2 separate regions of the Homo sapiens genome follow, and region 2 is linked to region 1. The links are contacts of gene promoters, found by promoter capture Hi-C in human tissues and cell types (Jung and others, 2019). All regions are on one chromosome and are shown on one strand. The core of a region is centred on a gene start or on the middle of the fragment in contact, and the rest is flanking DNA. Distances in the headings are between cores, read along the strand shown.

Evidence for each region. Contacts are between HindIII fragments. The study calls those that stand out against the background at their distance.
Region 2: a contact is called between a fragment that was not itself captured here and the fragment with the promoter of CBL in region 1, in 4 of the 25 tissues and cell types used here (IMR-90 fibroblasts, aorta, liver and 1 more).

The regions. Positions count from the first base shown.
Region 1 is chr11:119,204,869-119,207,602 of GRCh38, reverse strand. It overlaps CBL (Cbl proto-oncogene), which reads right to left and starts at 1,264. Exons shown (of 16, transcript NM_005188.4): 1 at 991-1,264. The coding sequence starts at 1,185. RefSeq lists silencers at 747-806, 997-1,186, 1,257-1,646, 1,687-1,756. The HindIII fragment of the contact is 26,271 bases long and covers 1-2,734 here.
Region 2 is chr11:119,247,655-119,250,577 of GRCh38, reverse strand. The region is part of intron 2 of CBL (Cbl proto-oncogene); the gene reads right to left. Among named protein-coding and RNA genes, the nearest start is that of CBL, 43 kb to the right of the region's middle. The HindIII fragment of the contact is 3,159 bases long and covers 1-2,923 here.

The sequences.
Region 1 (2,734 bases), core at 15-2,514:
CAACTATAAGGAAGTAAAATTCTCCCAAATGACAAACTTAGTGGCTAAATATAAAGGAGTTATTTTTGTTCGCACTTGCAAAAAGCAAACAAACAAAAAAGCGTAATCAAAGAAGCTCAACGAACAAGTTTAAAGTCAGGACCTGTAATAAGGAGTCAGAACCGTTACCAGAAAAAAAGAACCCAGCTCAAGCGATGTAGTAGGGAGGAAGTTATTAAGAAGTCAGAATCTGCTGCTGCTTAACAGGCTCAGCCAGTCCATCTTTCAGAAGATAATAGTTCTAACCAGAACTTGTGGTTTAATCAGTGCATATCTCAGCACCAGCAATGGATCACATCCAGTGTTTCTGAGGGTAACAAAAAACTTGAGCCGGCGCTAGATGGGGAGGAAAGTTCTTTCCTTGCCTCACTTAAACATCAATATGTCTTTTATCTTCGTGTTACATCTTAATGAGAAAGGACTATACTCTCACCCAGAGCACAGCTTCCCTGAGAGCTGTCCTGACCCCAGCCAGGTTCCTCAGTCAGAGCCCATGAACCTAATTCCCTAGTCAGATCTCACCCAGCCAAGAGCCCCAGCCGGTACATCACTCTTCCTCACCCCCTCCCTGCTAACCTCCCAGGCCAATTCCGTGACCTACATCCCTACACCCTGCACAGAGCCCCAAACTCCGCACCCCTCATTGTACTTCCGCCCCACTGACTTCCCAGTTAACCTTCGCCCCAGCCCCCACTCCATCTTTGTCTGGCTACCCCAAACGCGGCACCCCAGCGTTCCCCGACTCCCAACGGCAGCCCCTCCCCCACGCCGCCCCCCACCCTCCCGGCCTCGTCCCTGCCCCCACGCCCCCGGCCGGTCACCCCGGCTCCGCGCCTCCCCGGCTTCACCAGACCCGTCCCCTCCCCCGCTTCCTCCGTCCGCTCGTTCCCCTCCCCGCGGCCCTCCGCCCACGCCCACCCTGCAACAGCGGGCGCTCAGCCGGCCTTTCACCTTGTCCATGAGCTTCCAGCACTTCTCCACCATCTTCTTGTCCACCGTCCCCGGCGGGTGGGGGCTGAGGTGGTGGTGGTGGTGGTGGTGCGGCTGGAAGGCGTCCTTCATGAGCCCAATCAGGCCACCCGAACCCGAGCCCCCGGAGCCGCTGCCGCCCCCGGCCCCAGAGCTCTTCTTCACGTTGCCGGCCATGGCCTGGGCAGGGTCGGAGCCCAGGCGGGTCCGCCGGCTCGGCTCGACTGCGAGCGAGGGAGAGAAGCAGGGCGTGAAGGAGGGGCCTCTCCCGGCCGCCGCCGCCGCCGCCGCCGCCGCCGCCGCCGGCTATCCGGGCGGAGGGAGGAGCGGCCGTGGGGAGGGGAGTGGGCGGCGCCGGGAGTGCGCGGGACGCGCCCCTTCAGAGCGCGCGAGCCCGGGGCGGGCGGGGCGCGTCCCGGAGGCGGACCGGCTTACTGGTAAGCTCGGGGAAGCGGCCGGCCGCGGCCGGACTGGGCAGCGACGATCCCCGGGCCACCGGCTTCGAGCAGCTCGCGTGCCCACAGCTCCCGGAAAGCCGCGGCCAGGTTTCTGTGCCCGTCTTCCCCGCCCCTACGCCGGGGCGGGGCGGGGCCAGGCTGGGGCGGGGTCGGCGGAACCTTTGGGCCTGCGCCCTCTGCTGGAGAAACGGGGAAAGGAGCGGCGGGGGGTTGGGGAGTAGGTCCAAGGTGGAGTCTGCGCAGTAGCCAGAAACCAAGACTTCCATGCTCCTTGTGGGCGGGAGGTTGGCGCTTCTGGGGTGGGTCATGGGAATGTTTAAATTAAGACAGGTGGCGATGGAATGGAAGAGTCCTGATGTCAAGTCTTTCCCCACCCCTGACAAATGAGGAAATCGAGCTTAGAGTTATTTGTTTATTTACACTGTGGGAGGATGGTGGGAGAAAAAGGAAAGTTATTTCTCCACCCCTTATTATTTTCAATTCTTCATTAAGACACGACCAAGGACAGGAATATGAATGCTGCGGCCCATTCCAGCCGGATTAGGCCCCAGAAAGCCTTGAGACACTCAAGCCAGGACCTCTTCTTCCAGGCCCTTTGACCTCTTGAAAAGAAATCACTTCCTTTTTTTATTTTTTATTTTTATTTTTTTGGCTTGTGAAGACTAGTTACGTTTCTGGGAATTGAATCTCAAACATGTATTTAAGATTCTCCTACTCAGAGCATTGCACCACAGGTCGGCGCCGCCAGCATGAGGGCCCCCTCAGAAGCTGACCTGCTGCTGGCTCCGCCCGAGGGGGTTCTCTCTCCCGCCCAGGGAACAGAAATGCTGTTCCTGGTCACTTCCACTTCTCAGTCAATTACACTTCTCTAATGTAAAAGTTCCGTTGGAAGAACTTTGAAAATAGGAACTTCCCTTCCAAAGAGGGAAGTGCCCTGCCCTAATTTACTAATTCTGAGCCTCAGTTTTGGGAGTTTGCAGACCCAGGTGTGTCAGTATCAGTTCCGCCTTCGATCCCCCTCCAGGCTCTTCCACAAAGCCCTTGACAGATTAGGGAGTTAAATTTATCCGGTGCTCCTGTAAAGGGGAAAATATCTTTGAATGCAGGGACCATTCAGACAGGCATCCTGGGTTTGCAATTTAATCGCCTTTATCTAGAATTGATTTTGGAGTCAACATTATAATTTACTATCAGAAGAATTTCCTTTTATCATTTTCCATCCAGGAAGAGAAGAATCTACAAAGGGAAAATCTAGGCAAAGCTCCATC
Region 2 (2,923 bases), core at 116-2,615, 43 kb before region 1:
TTACTGCCTGGAGAGTTTTCATGTCTCAGCACTAGAAAGGGAATTCAGGCAGACTTGACGGTCACTCTGGGTTGAGAAGACAGAATTTGGGGCCTGGGAAAGCCAAGGCATCTGGAGTTCACAGTGCAAAATACAAGAGAGGAGAGAGATGCATAAAGAAAGCCCAGCTTTGAAGAGCTACAGAGGGGACCTTCTAAGTCTTCAGCTAAGCACTGATCAACACAGGAAAATACCTGAAGCTAGGGAAAGAACCACCTGAAAGGGGTAGAGGGAATAATCCCTAGATCTCACACAAGGACAAGAGAGGAAAAAAATCTTACAATTCAATGGACATCAGGGGAAATTTACCCTAGATTAAAGGTCATTTTGGTCCTGCCTCACAAGGTTTAAAAGGATCAAACTATTCCATGTAACATAGCTGTGTCCCAGAACACAGCTTAGGAGTATTTATAATATAAAAGAATCCAGTGTAGAACAAGGTAAGATTAACGATGTCTGGCATCCACTCAAAAATTGCCCAGCATGGACTGAAACAGAAAAATATGACTCTTACTGAGGATAAAAATAAACCAATAGAATTAAATCTATGAGTGACAAAGATGACAGAATTAGCAGACAAAAGCCAGGCACAGTGGCTCACATCTAAAATCCCAGCACTCTAGGAAGCTGAGTAAGGTAGGAGGATCACTTGAGCCCAGGAGTTTGAGACCAGCCTGGGCAACATAATGAGGCTGTATCTGTACAAAAAAATAAGTTAGTCTGTATGGTAGTGTGTGCCTGTATTCTCAGCAACTTGGGAAGCTTAGGTGGGAGGATCGATACTTGAGCCCAGGAGGCTGAGACTGCAGTGAGTCATGATCATACCACCTGGGAGATAAAGGGAGACCCTGTCTCAATTAAAAAAAAAAAAAGAAAGAAAGAAAGAAACTGTACCAAAATAATAGCAATATTAGTCACTTTCCTTTCCCTTTTGTTATTTGATTTCAATTCTCTATAATGTGCCCACAGCATTTTTTTTTTTTTTTTGAGACCGAGTCTCACTCTGTCACCCACGCTGGAGTGCAGTGGCGTCTCACCTCACTGCGAACCCTGCTTCCTGGGTTCAAGCGGTTCTCCTGCCTCAGCCTCCCAACTAGCTGGGATTACAGGCGTGTGCCACCATGCCCAGCTAATTTTTGTATTTCAGTAGAGATGGGGTTTTTCCATGTTGGCCAGGCTGGTCTCAAACTCCTGACTTCAAGTGTTCTGCCCTGCTTGGCCTCCCAAAGTGCTGGGATTACAGGCATGAACCTCCACGCCCAGTCGAAAATTTCATTTTTTATGAGTGAATAATATTCCACCATATGGCTATAACACATTTGCTTCACCCACTCATCTGCTGAACACTTGAACTGCTTCTACTTTTTGGCTGTTGTGAAAACTGCTGCTATGAACATGGGTGTACAAATATCTGTTCAAGTCCTTGCTTTCAATTCTTTGGGGTATGTACCTAGAAGAACTGCTAGATCCTATGGTAATTCTATGTTCAGCTTTCTAAAGAACTGCCAAACTGTTTCCCACAGTGGCTGTACCATTTTCTATTCCTATCACCAATGCATGAGGGTTTTATTCTTAAAATAATATCCACCTAACAGCTGTGAAGTGGTATCTCATTGTGGTTTTGATTTGCATTTCCTTAATGATTTAATGATGTTGAGCATCCTTTCATGAGCTTATTGGACAGCTGTATATCTTCTCTGAAGAAAAATCTATTCAAAACTTTTGAGCATTTTTGAATTGGTTTGTTTTGTTGTTGTTTTGAAGTTCTTTACATGTTCTGGATGTTGATCCCTTATCAAATATATAACTTGTAAATATTTTGACCCATTCTGTGTGCTGCCTTTTCACTTCCTTAATATGTCCTTTGATGAACAAAGTTCTTAATTTTCATGAAGTCTGATTTATCTATCTTTATGCTTTTGGTGTCATACTTAAGAAATCATTGCCTAATCCAAGATTCATGAAGATTTTCACTTATGTTTCTTCTACAAATTTTGTATTTTAGTTCTTAAATTTAGGTCTTTGATACATTTTGAGAGTTGTTTGTTTTCATTTTTTTGGCCCATCCTTCTGCAGGATTTTTATATGCAACATAAGGAAAGGATCCAACTTCATTCTTTTGAATGTGATAATTTAGTTTTCCCAGCACCATTTGTTGAAAAGACTGTTGTTTCTCCATTGAGAAGCTTGTCAAAAAAGTATCGATTGACCATATGTATGAGGGTTTATTTCTGGGCTCTCAATTCTAGTCTACTGGTCTGTATGTCTATCCTTATACCAGTACCACAATGTTTTGATTATTGCAGCTTTGCAGTAAAGCTTTGAAATCAGAAATACAAGTCTTCCAACTTTATTCTTGTTCAAGATTGTTTTGGCTATTTGAGGTCCCTTAAGATTTTTTATGACTTTTAAAATCCACTAGTCAGCTTCTGAAAAAAGTGCTACTGGAATTTTGATAGGTATTGCAATGACTGTGTATCAACATGGGGAATACTGCAACCTTAACAATTCTAAGTTATAATCCATGAACACAGAATGTCTCTCCATTTATTTAGGTCTTCTTTAGTTTCTTTCAGCAATGTTTTGTAGTTTCCAGTGTACAAGTCTTTTGCCTCCTTAATTTTATTCCTAAGTATTTTATTATTTTTGATACTACTGCAAATGGAATTTTCTTAATTTTATTTTTGGATTGTTCATTCCTTATGTATAAAACTATAATTTTTATTTGAGACGGACCCTTGCTCTGTCACCCAAGTTGAAGTGCAGTGGCATGATCTCGACTCACTGCAACCCCTGCCTGCCGGGTTTCAAGCAATTCTCCTGCCTTAGCCTCCCAAATAGCTGGGATTACAGGCCCCCATCACCACACCCAGCTAATTTTTGT